Regions from separate parts of the Homo sapiens genome. Here region 1 is linked to region 2. The links are contacts of gene promoters, found by promoter capture Hi-C in human tissues and cell types (Jung and others, 2019). All regions are on one chromosome and are shown on one strand. Each heading gives the region's core, a stretch centred on a gene start or on the middle of the fragment in contact. The rest is flanking DNA. Distances are from core to core; before and after follow the strand shown.

Evidence for each region. Contacts are between HindIII fragments. The study calls those that stand out against the background at their distance.
Region 1: a contact is called between a fragment that was not itself captured here and the fragment with the promoter of FMNL2 in region 2, in 1 of the 25 tissues and cell types used here (aorta).

The regions. Positions count from the first base shown.
Region 1 is chr2:153,139,916-153,146,072 of GRCh38, reverse strand. It overlaps a transcript of GALNT13 not described here. Among named protein-coding and RNA genes, the nearest start is that of RPRM, 340 kb to the left of the region's middle. The HindIII fragment of the contact is 4,398 bases long and covers 1-4,379 here.
Region 2 is chr2:152,333,042-152,339,456 of GRCh38, reverse strand. FMNL2 (formin like 2) reads right to left here and starts at 4,283. Exons shown (of 26, transcript NM_052905.4): 1 at 3,737-4,283. The coding sequence starts at 3,853. RefSeq lists silencers at 3,224-3,323, 3,834-4,483. The HindIII fragment of the contact is 5,547 bases long and covers 980-6,415 here.

The DNA.
Region 1 (6,157 bases), core at 931-3,430, 810 kb before region 2:
TCTAATATTGGCTCTGCTACTAATTCACTCTGTAAGCTCAGGAAATTCCCTTCATCTCAGAAACCCAGTGAGTTTCCCAAGACATGAAGCTAAATACACCTCACATTCTCCTCTGGGCCATAAAAAATAGTTGGAACATGATGAGTGTGGCTCCTTCCTGCTATGTTTATTATGTTGAGTTCCAGAAATCTGATCCTGGGAATCACCTAGAGAGATAGATTTTAATAGTTCGAGGTCATGCTAGTCCATGGATCCTCATTCACTATTATGTATACAATACTATCCTTCATGGCCACAGATTTCCCCAAACTCAGAGCACATATGCCCATAATGGATTAGGTTTCAGCCTCTGAGCATTTAACTTTTTACACATTCCAAGTTTAGAGTAACTGCACTGGGAGCCATCTGCCACCAAGCATCTGGTTGGACTTGGACCTAATCCATCTCTGCCAGGTGCCTGATAGTCACACACTCTGAAAACCCAATGCCAAAATTATATGTGAATCAAAGACCTGGGGTTCCAAAATGATCCAATTAAGAAGTATTTTTAGAATTTGGCTTAATTTTTCAAGGCTTCAACTTTCAGGATTATTATTATATAATCAGCAACCTTTGAAATGAAATCCAACTAGGTATATTTTTTAAACTAGACCATTTCTGGTAAGTTTGTTAATGTGATTAAAATGTACATGGCTATACATGTTTTCAGAATTAATACAATTTTTAAACTTCTTTTTCGGCATTATAGTATTCATAGATGTTTGGCTAAAATTAGTAGGTAATTGGGAAATTTTGCTTTGTTCTATTTTGTTCTAACGACCAAATATATGAACTATTGCATCCTACCTTTCAAATTGCTATGTAAGAAACTGAAAGTCACCAATCCATACACTTATATATATGCTCAGCACCATAATAGATGACAAATTTTTTCATAGATAGGATTTTAAGTTTTGAGGAATAAAACCATGCCTTTCACTTCTTCATATCTACAGTGTGCTAAATATATAGCAAGTATTTATTGAGTAATTTATAAAGTAAACATTAGTTTTATCATCTAGTGACTATCATTAATTATAAGAATAATGGCTAGTACATATTATGCACTATTTGTCAGACATTATGATAAGCATACTTTATATCATTTTTTGATAATTGTATTAGAAAAATCATGCATATAATTTCTAATATAACCCCTCTTATAAGCAAGTGAAGATCAGAGAGGTTAAGAAAACTTCCCGAGTTTTCTTAACTCGGCAAGAAACTGGTAACTTTGAGTCCCACACTCAGATCTGTCAGACTTCAGAGCCCATTGCCTTAATTACTGCTTTTCCCCAGACATGAACATTTTCCTCTTCTAGTCTTCTATTATCAGTAGGCTTTGTAGGAGAGGATTGTTTCGTATCCAAGAGCAGACCATGAGTTTGTATCTTAAATTGTGTATGATGATTATGCCAGTCACTTCCTGAGAACCAATTATTCTTTCTTCCTCCTATCTTGGCATACCAGACTTACTTCTCTTCTATTATGGATAACTTGAGTGTTCCAGTGCTCAAATACACTTCTGGAGTTCTCTACAGAATCAGAGGAGCCACTTACCTAATGACAAATTAGGACACATTATTTAGAGCCCAAGAAGACTTAAGAAGGTTGCATAGGAGTAAAGTGTTTGCAGAATATTCAAAAAGCATCTTAGAGATTATCAAGTTCAACTTTCTTGTTCTACATATCCAGGCTCCTGAGGTGAAGGGAATTTCCTGAGCTTACACAGCTAATTAGTAGCAGAACCAATACTAGATCTCCATTCTCCTTTCCTTCAGGACCTGCTTCCATTGCACCATATTCCCTTCTCTCTGAATTACTTCAAGGCAAATAAACACCAGTCTTTCATGCAGGGTGATCCAAGGATTTTTCCAATGACCCTTCTTTCCATGGAGCTTTCTAAAAATGGAGAAAAGAATTATTTATAGCCCTTATTTCAAGGTGCTTTTCAAATATCCAATTATCCAATGACCCATGAGAGCTAGAGGTGGCAAAGGACAGTGGACTTGGCTGCGTATTTCGTACGCATTCATGTGATGACCGAAACTCCAGTGCTTAGACAATGAATGCCTAGGGTGAGGATGCTAAGAAATGAAGGCAAACATCTATGCCTGTCATTTAAAGATACGCTGAGGGCAGAAAAAAATACTTGAAAAGCTTTTAAGCCAGTAGAGTTGATAACAAAGTGTTTGATGTCTAAATAATATCAGCAAACTTTGCAAGAGTTGTCTGGGGCAGATTTTCTGTTTCACTCCGTTTTTTAAAGTAATCTTTTGGGCTTTCTAAATGATACAGCACAGGAGAAAACAATTCTAAGTTGTGCAAGAGACTTCAACTAGTAACATTTGTAATATAGTCCACAAGTCTTAAAAATGTTTCCATCTACCAAATTAAACTATTTCCATCTGGCAGACTTTGCTACTTGCTTTGCAAGATGAATGAAGCTGAAAGGACTATGGCTACTTTTCAAGGTTTCAATTCAATGCAGGCAGTATTTTCATGCCCAGGTCTAACTAGGTTTCACTGCTCTGAGACTACAGCACCACAGTTATTATAGCTCAAAGAGAAAGATTAACTGCTCTGGAAGGAAACAGGCAGGATGAAATTACAATCATGGACCCTAGTATCTGGCATCAGGTATTAATGGGCATGAGCCAGAGAGTTCTTGCAAAAGAAAGGATAGAAGGAGGCATAAACAAAAGCACAGAAATTAGGGTGTATATTTTTTCCTTTTTAAAAAAAGTTTCCCAATTTTAGTCATTTTGCAAAAGAGAAATTACCATTAGAGACATGTACATTCGACCTGCCTTATGCTTGACATATCGTTAATGAGTGGAGCGATGATAACAAGAGTCTTGGGCTGGGAGCCTGCACCAGAAGTAGCCTAAAAATGCCAGCTGTCCAGGTACCTTCCTTGTTGGTGTGGTTCTGGGATCACTTGCACACTTTTTCAGGCACCAATGATTTCCTTTATCATTGCTGGGATTACCTCTCCATTCACACCTTTGAAGCTTCTCTTCATTGCCCATTATCTCTTCTCCTTTTCACCAACTGGCAGTATATTCTCCTTGGGAAGTTGAACCCCTGTCTGAGCTACTGCTCCACAGCCTGCAAAACTGCATAATTACAAGGACCCACCATGTTAACATCATTCCTTCCAGTTCTAAGTGGGCCTCTAGAATACCTCCCACCTACCGTTTTCTGCTTTTGATTTCATATCTCCTAACATGAGCTCAACAAGACAAAGCTTTGGGAATTGGCCCTTGTCAGGCTAACTTCACTAATTTTTCATAGGACTTCTTGTCAATCTTCCCATTTCCATACATAACACCACAATAAAGGCAAAGAAAGCTTACAATATCCCTAGGCCTACAAACCTCCATTTCATTTATCGATCTCTCTCTCTCTCTTGCTCTTGCTCTCGGTCTCACTTTCTCTCTCTCACGCTCATTCTCTCATTTTTCTAAAATTGGGACATATTATTCCCAGGTATTGGGCTAAAAGATAATATACGTTATACCACAGTAGAACATCCTAAATCATCAGCCTGTTTTCCTGAACTGAGCCTGACCATTTAAACCTTTTATCATTCCAAGGTAAGCTCTCTGCTCATTAGGACATTACTTGATATGTTTAGAAATTGCTCTTTTTCTCTACCTTCCTCCATGTGTTTATCATCTTCAATTACTTCCAGCAATCCCACTGGGCACTGGGCAAATAAAACTCCCTGCGGCTTTCCCAAACATGCCCCAAGGTGCCAGAATTCCAGCAGTGTTAACATTAAGTAGCCACTTCCCCTCCAGGGGTTTTGCTCTGTATGTGAAGTCACCAAATGCATAATCTCTCACAATGAATTAAGCACCACTACTATGGCAGAATTGATGAACTGGCTGTACAGTGTATTTTGGTCATAAAGACCGATAGTTTAGGTACAAAGAATTCAGCAGTTCGTGAGAAATTACATTTTTCCCATCATAGCAAAAATAACGCTTCATGATGTCTCTCTCAACCCAACCACAGTAGCCTTTATTATTACTATCCATCATCTGGAAGCTTATTCGTTCCTAAATTGTATTGCTTGATATTTTTGGTTCATTAATTTATTGAGGACATGTTACTAAGCATGTACCACAATAAGATACTATTCAAATGTCTGATTCAAACCCTGGCTCTGATGTTTACTACCTTACTCTTAGGTTGTTCTAATGATTAACAGAGAAAATAGGCTTAAAAATTGTAAAGATTAAATGCATAGCTAGATGACTTCTATAATGATGGTATGGGGAGCTCTGAGACCCTCTCCCAGCAAAACAGTCGTAACTAGTGGGAAGAAAAAGAAAACACACCTTCAACCTACCAAACAGCAAGAGACTGTGGCAGCAAAAGTCTCTTCCTCACCACACCCAGCTCTGCATGATGAAGCTCCACTCCAGGTAGGTAGAACCAAGAACACAGGGCTCTGTCTTCTCCCAGCTCCCAGTTGAGAACTGCAGCATCTCCCCACCTCACTATCCACCATCTGTATTGCAGAGGTTTTAATACTAGACAAAAACAGCTGAGAAGTCTGGAGGCCTCTTCCTCTACCCTGCCCCAACTCACGGGGTGGAAGCTCTACCTAAGCTTATAGGCCTTTAATCTTAGGCCTAGCCCACCCTTATCTCTGCTCATTCATAGGGCAGAGGTTCCACACAAGGACAGACAAGTTGAGAAGGCCAGTGGTGGCTGCCCCAGCCCAGCATCCTGCTTGTGGAACCCAGATGTCACTCCAACACAAGTGGCCATATATCCATACTATGGAATATTATTCAGCAATTTAAAAAGAAAATAAAAAACTGCTATCTGCTACAACAGGGATGAATCTAGAAAACATTATGCTCTTCCAGGTGGAAAAAGCCAGTCACAAAAGACCACATATTTCCTGATTTTACATATGAAATGTCAAGAATAAACAAATCTACAGATACAGAAAGATTAATGGTTCTCTTTGACAGGGGATGGACAGAGTGGTAGAATGGACAGCAACTGCTTATGAGTATGGATTTTTGGGGGAGCTGATGAAATTTTCCAAAATCAGATCATGGGGATGATTGCACAACTCTGTAAAAATACTGAAAGGTGTTGAATTAAACACTTTAAATTGGTAAATTATATTTCAGGCCATTTTAAACAATTATGTATATGAAGCATTAATTCATATCCACCTTAGGTATTCAATGAATGCTATTCCCTTTCTGTTTTCTTTCGGTGAATTCAATGAAAATGCAAAAATGAAGAAGTGCATCTTAGTTGGGTATTCAGCTTCCCTTGGTAAGAGAAAAGTTACTTGAGGGCAAAGTTCCTTGTGGTGGTTAACATATGTTTTACATAAAAGGCACTCATTATATTAACATTTGTAAAACTCTGAGTTTTTCAACTTGGAGAGCACTGTAAAACAGGGATTAACAGACATAGATTCTGGGGTCCTACAACCTAGACTCAAGCCATAAGATTAAAGATTCAAATCTCAGAGTTAGTCCTGCTCAATTTGAATCCTGGACTTTAGTTAAATTATTAACCTTTCCCTGTTTCAGTTTCTTCACCTTTTATGAAAATACATTTATATGCATTCATTTGCTCACATTTTCTCTATAAAGACAACCTGTCCTTTGTTGTATACAACCTTTGGAATCCTTCCTTTCTCCAAGGTCATCTCAAGACCTGACTCCTCTGTGAAGTCTCTGCCAATTCCACCTTCCAGGCCAGTTAACTTATCGGGTTCTCGTGGGAATGGGAAATGAAATAACATTGTGAAGGACCTGGAATAGTGCTTGGCATACATTATGTGCTCAAAAAATATTAGCTGTAATGTTAATGACTATTATCATTTCCTTCCGTGATAAATAGTTTTTGGTTGTATTGTTTACTTCAAATCTGGCGTAACAAATCTTAAGGAATGGATGGTAAGATTACCACATCATCAAATGCCAGACCTGATGTCCTCTCTGCTCACTTTTCCACCCTATTGCTTTTAAGGGCTGGTGGGAGAATAAAGAAGTTTGTAAGTGGAGGAAAATAAATAGCTAAGAACCTCTTCTAAACATGATCTGGTCACTCCTATTTATGAGAGCTTCCCAAA
Region 2 (6,415 bases), core at 3,034-5,533:
TGAATAATATTATGCAGTGTCTAATGTAGAAACAGGTATTCTCGGACAAAAACCATCAGTTGTTCACCACATCCACCCAGAACCACCTTCTTATCATCATCTTTAAAAATAAAAGACATGGGAGTATTTGTGGATGTGTGTATGTAACCCAGGATGTCCAATCTTTTGGCTTCCCTGGGCCACACTTGGAAGAAGAAGAATTGTCTTGGGCCACACATAAAATACACAAAAACTAACGATAGCCGATGAGCTTAAAAAAAAATCATGAAATAAATCTCATAATGTTTTAAGAAAGTTTATGAATTTGCGTTGGGCCCATGAGGCCCACAGGCAGTGGTTGACAAGCTTGATGTAACCCCCAAAATTAGACAATGGTTAATAAATACAATGGAGGGCCACATGGCTATTACAGATATGAAGAACCCCCAAAAAACACAGGCTAATATTACCTATGAAATATATACATCCTTACATCCTAAAAGAACAAAGATTGAAGTACGTGGCTGACTTTATAATTTATGAAACACTTCCATATAAATTATACATAGGTTAGAGTATAACAGAAACATTGCACATACACACACACAAAGGCATATGCATATATGTGTGTGTGTGTGTGTGTGTGTGTGTGTGTGTATCTCACCTTCCAGCTGTACCTGAAAGGTCAATACAGGGAAGCAAATGGTTTAAATGTATACACTAAGACAGTAATTTTTTCCCTTAAATGTAAGTTTTATAACTATTACTATAATGATACTGAAGATACCTATCCTTGGGAGGATTAAACTCCTAACACTGGGATCCAATTTTTGCTAGTCACTAACTCCATTTTTTTCTATTAAAAAGATTACTTTTCAAAGTTCACCCCTCTAGTCTTAATTCATTAGTCTTTTATTCTCTCATTTCCATTCATACCCACTAATTTTTTATATTCGCACAATTTAACCCATATAAACTGATGGGGAGGGAGGGTATAGTCATTGAATAGATTTGTTCTCTCTTAAGGCTTTCCTAACAAGAAATAAAATGGACTTTTGTCATTTTAATTTTTGTTTACTTCTCTCTGAGGCCTTAAATATTCTAGAGCTGGAAGTTGGGAGGAACTGTTCTCCTAGCTTGAAACAGTCTGTTAATTATTGATGTTAGCCATACTTACAATGAGGTGCTTAGACACTTTTCTATACGGTATTACTATCTGGTTTTCCTCCCAAAACACCCGTATGATCTTTATTATACAAGAAAGTTGAACTGGTATCAATAATGCCAACACAATTTCCATTGCCCTCCACATACATACTTAAAAATCTGCCACTTAAAACTTGTCCTTCAAGATTGATGTCCACAATTAAATGGTTTGAACTGATTTCTTAAGCAACTCATGAAGAAAAGCAAAGTTGAGATTATCACACACACAACTCCAGAAAAAAAAAAAAAACAAGAGAAATCACCAACACTGCGCACTTCTATTGGCCCACGGAGATGATCTGGAAGGTTTCAACTCCTCTCACAGATTGTCAAAGAGCAAGTGGAGCTGACCTGGGACAAGGAACGCATCAATGGTCCAAATGCGTCCCTAGGAAGAGGGTTCCCAAGCTGACCTGGTCCCCCAAAAGCTTTGTCTCTACTCAATAAAAGGTCAGCCTGGTATTGTTTTTGTTTCTTGATTGAGAGGCTTAGAATATTGTAAACAATTTTAAAAGGAATTGCACCCAGTAACTGCGACACACAGTAGTGTAAAAGTAGCCACAACAACCCTGCCCCAAGAAGCTTGGGATGTACAATCATAATTGTCTAAATACTATATTTGCAACTGCTAGCCTTAACAAGAACACAAATCCACCATGTTAATGATGGGACATTATTTTTCTAAAGATTAATTCACACCATGTGTTATTAATCAGCAGGGTAAATGAAAGCTCAAGCAAAAAAAAATGCTATCCTAGTCAAGCAGAACTTAATTGCATTATTGTTATTATTATGGCTGCTGCACTGGTTTCCCTGTGTCACTGGCTCCTCCACCACAAGTATTCAGACACACACACACACACACACACACACACACACAGAGCACCACAGCATGGATGGAAAAACAAAAAAGCCAGAGCCAGGAGGAAAAAAAGCCAGAGCCAGGAGGTAAGAACCATATGTCTAGTAGGAAGAGGGTTTTGAAGAAAAACGTTTGTCTCTGGAAAAGCAGGTCAAGTATGCACCCAGGCCGCCTTGAGAGTTATGCCTAGGCCGTTTCATTTCAGTGTCCCATCTTGCACAACGGTGGGAGCAGCTGTGGGAGATCACAGGAGATGCAAAGCAACACAAGCAACCTCATCTGTCTCCCCGACGGCCACACCAGAGTTTCCAGGTGGCGGGAGAGAGAGCTCAGTTCTCCCAAAGAGCACACAGCTAACCTGCCATCCAGAACATCACTTCCCATACCAAACCATTCCTTTTTCAAGGCCTGAAGGCAGGCAATTTGAACGTCCTGTAGCTGAGCACACCTCAGAAAACCGATTTTTGATCTAGAACTCGAGTCCTCTGCCAAAGTTCTAAGTTTTCATGAAAACAAAAGAAGAAAAGAAAACCCGCAGGCAGGCACAATCGTTGGCTGCCCGGATCACGAGTTTCCCTTGCTGCCTAGTCTTGTGGAGTTTAGAGGTAACCAACTAGGAAAAGAGAAGTGTCCAAGTGTCAGGAGTAGGAATGAGCCCAATCTCGCCTGTGTGTGTCCCTCCCAACATCCCTTAGAAGAGGCTGGGACACTAAAACTGGTAGTCTGGGGGACCAACAGCAGTCCAGATCCTGGCTGGGGCAAGCCGCCACACCCTCTGCAGCTCACAGCACAAGCCTCGGCTGGGAGGGGCCCAGACACTGTCCCAGCAGGAAAGGGAGAAAGAGGGGAGTTTTCAGAGTCCTGGATTTGAGGAGCTGGAAAGCTGGGAGAAGCGGAATGCAGGAGGGAGCGGGGGACCTGGCTGGGCGTGCAAGAGGAGGGGAGGGGTCGCCCGTGCAGTCAGGACAGCTCGCAACACGTCCCCGCAAAACTCCACATTTTTGTGGTTTAAGATTTAAGTCTAGAGGGAACGCGCTGAGGTTCTCCCCGGCCTGGGTTTCAGATGCCCCTGCTCCTCGCCAAGGGCCGGGGCGCCGCACTGCTGTGGGTCTCCGCTTTCCCTTTCGGGGAAGCTCCCCTTGGCCAAGCCGCGACGTGAGCCCTCCAAGTTCGCCTCCGCTCACCGCCCGGCGCGGCGCCCGCGGCCGGCCACATGCGCCCCATCTGCCGGGGACTTCGCAGGTCCCGGGCTGGCCGCCCGAGGGATGGTCCGCAGGGGCTCAGGGTGTTTTGTTTTGTTTTGTTTTGTTTTGTTTTTTTTAAAAAAAAAGCCTAAGCGGCTCGCCACCTCCTCCTCCCAGCCCGCGCCACCTTCTCTTCACGCCCACGCCGCACCTCCCGGGCACACGCGCCGTGAGGTGCCTCTCCAGCCAGACAATGGGTTCGAGGCTGGTTGGGCAGCCGGCCCTGAGCCCCCATCCCCATCCCGGGACCCCGAGAGACTGAGCGCGGGGGACTGCCAGGGGGGTGAAGAGGAGTGCTGGGGGGCCACAAAGGGGAAAGCGGGAGCCTCCCCCTCGGGAATGGAGGCTCGCTCCCGGCACGGGGTGAAGGGGAGGGGCGGGGGTCAGCTGCGCCGCCCGGCCCGGGGCCCCGGGTCCCCGCGCCCGACCGCCGCCGCGCACTTACCAGCACGATGGCAAATCGCTCCTCCAGTTCACCTGGCTCTGGCATCGGCAGCTTCAAAGGCACGTTGTGCGCCCTGAAATCGGTCTGCTGCGAATCCATGCTCCCTGCGTTGCCCATGTCGGCGGCGCGCCGGGGCCGGGGGCTGCTCCGGGCCCCTAGCGTGCGCGTCGGAAATCAGAACAGCTCCCGGCGGTCGGCTGCCGCCCGCAGGCGCGACCTGCCCGGCTCCCCGCCCTCCGCCGCGCCCAGGCGGGTGTGCGGCGCGCACCGCTCCCTAGCAGCGCTCCAAGCCGAGCCGCCCCCCGGCCTCCCTCATGCTCTCCGCCGCCCCAGCGCGGCCCCGGCCTCTTTTCCTCGGGAGGGGTAGTTGGGGCGCTGGGCGCCTATGTGCATGGTGCTCCGCTGGCACACCGCCCCCTGCCAGAGATCGCGGCCCCCGGCGCGTGGTCCCTCCTACTCGGCCTTCTGCCGGGCCCGCGGCCGCCGCTGACACTTCCAGCCCTAGCCGGCCACGGCTGCGCCTGCCTGGCTAGCACCTGGAGCAGACAAATGCAGCTCCGCGCTCCCCTACACAATGCCACCTCTCGCCCGGCGCCCGGCCCCCGCCCCCGGCCCGGCTCCGCCCACTCGCCCCGCGGACTGCCGGGACGCGTAGTTTCTCTCCAAAGTGTCCGCGCGCAGAAACCACGCCTGCTCTAGAGCGCCAGGCCGGGTTGGGACCATTTGCAGCAAAGGCGATCCGTAGTCTCTGGAGATAGCATATTGTCACTTTTGACCCTCCTCACCCCAACAGTGGAATACTTACATCGTGTATATCATGTTGACACTTGGTAGGCGGGTCTGACCATGACGGAATCGAATCAATGAATGAAGGAATGCATGCCTTCTGATTAAAATTCAGAAAATCGTTGCTGTTTTTAAAAGATCTAGTTCAGTAAGGAACTTCGAAAGCACTGGCAAAGTTCTGTTTCATAAACGGGGGGGTGGGTCCATGGGTGCTTGTTTATCGTTCTTTCTTCCATATATATGTTCTTTGGTGTGATTGAAATGTTTTATAAACAGATGTATAATTTATGGGTATATATAGTCAGACCCTAGGAGCTAGGTAAGGATTCAATTCAATTTAAAAAAAAAACCTGTCAAACACCTATTATGTATGGGATATTGTGTTCCTTGGTGGGAGAAAAAAGAGATTTGCCCTGCGCTGGAATACTTGCCAATCTAGTGAAGGAAAAAATGTACACACCCATATTTCATGTGAGATGGATATAATGATAGAGTGTTCTGGGAGACTTTGGGATGATCTTTGGCTGCAGCTCTCTTATTCCTTCACAGCAGTCTTGAGCAAGGTGTCTTACAGAAAAGATTGGACCTGACTCTGTCCTCTGGGGTGTATTTCAGACTATAACTACCCGTTCTGAAACCTCGGAAATAGAAATAGCCTTATAAGAGACTTTAGCCAACTGCTCATGTGAATGTTAAGGGCATACATCTGGTTGACTTGTGGCTGAACTTCTGCAGTTAGTCCTTTCTTAGTTTAAAGCAGTGTTTCTTAATCCTAGATGTGTATCAGATTCGCTTGGGAAGCTTTTTGTTAAAACTACACACACCTTGGGCTCTGCGTATTATCAGAATCTCCCTAAGCTGAGAGCCGAAGCCTGGGCCGGTGTATTTTCAACAAGCTCCCCAGGTGATTTTGATATGCAGGTAAGGTTGTTATCCTTTTAGTAAATAGCAAGTGTTTCTGGACAAGGTAGTACACCAAGATTCAATCAAGGACATTTCATTCATCTTTATAAACTTCAAGATACTTTAAACATAGTAGACGCCCAAGAACTATTTGTGGAATTGACAAGTGACTTTTTCCAAAAGCATATGACACAAATACACACAAATACATCATGTATGTTCTATTAAACCACTTCTAGTCTTTAAAGAATGGAGACAGTATAAATAAATTCAACTTAAAATTCTGAATAACTGTAACCTGTATTTCTAAAGCAGTGTTGTATCAAAGTTAATAGCAAATGTGTTACTGATCTGAGAGAAAAGCAGGGCGGTTTAGATACACACACACTCCAAACTAATGAAAATGAGAGAGAAAGAAAGCAGTTCGGACCAGGTGAAACATTTCTGACCCACAAATGTATTTATTTCCTTGTAATCTCTAGACATATACTTTGGATCTGATTGACTCACAAAATCAGCCCACCCAGAGGGTTGCCCATCTGGATAAAAAAGGCTGGAATTCTTTTCTGCAGTTGAGAAAGCCTTTTTGATTACATTTATGTCTCCCTGCGGCTATATTTCTGCCAGTAACCAAGACCTTTTTCTCCCCTTACGTCTTATCACATCTAGTCTCTCTCATAAGCTCACACTTCGAGGGAAGCCAAGGAAAAAGTGTGCAAATCTATGAACCAAAAGAACTTTCCTGCCATTTCAATGTTTGGAATCTCTAATATTTGGTTGTTATTTGTGATTATTAAGAGGAGAAATAAACACTCCATAGGCTTGTACAATTTCTATAAGAATCCATCAAAATCTTAGGAAATTCTTTGCGGGGAGACGGCATGGAGGGAAAGGAAAGAAAAGACATTTCTATTACCTTAATTGTAGCACTCTTCCTCCCCACAGAATTAAAATCAAGCAATCATTTAAAAATGTATATTCCATTTATTA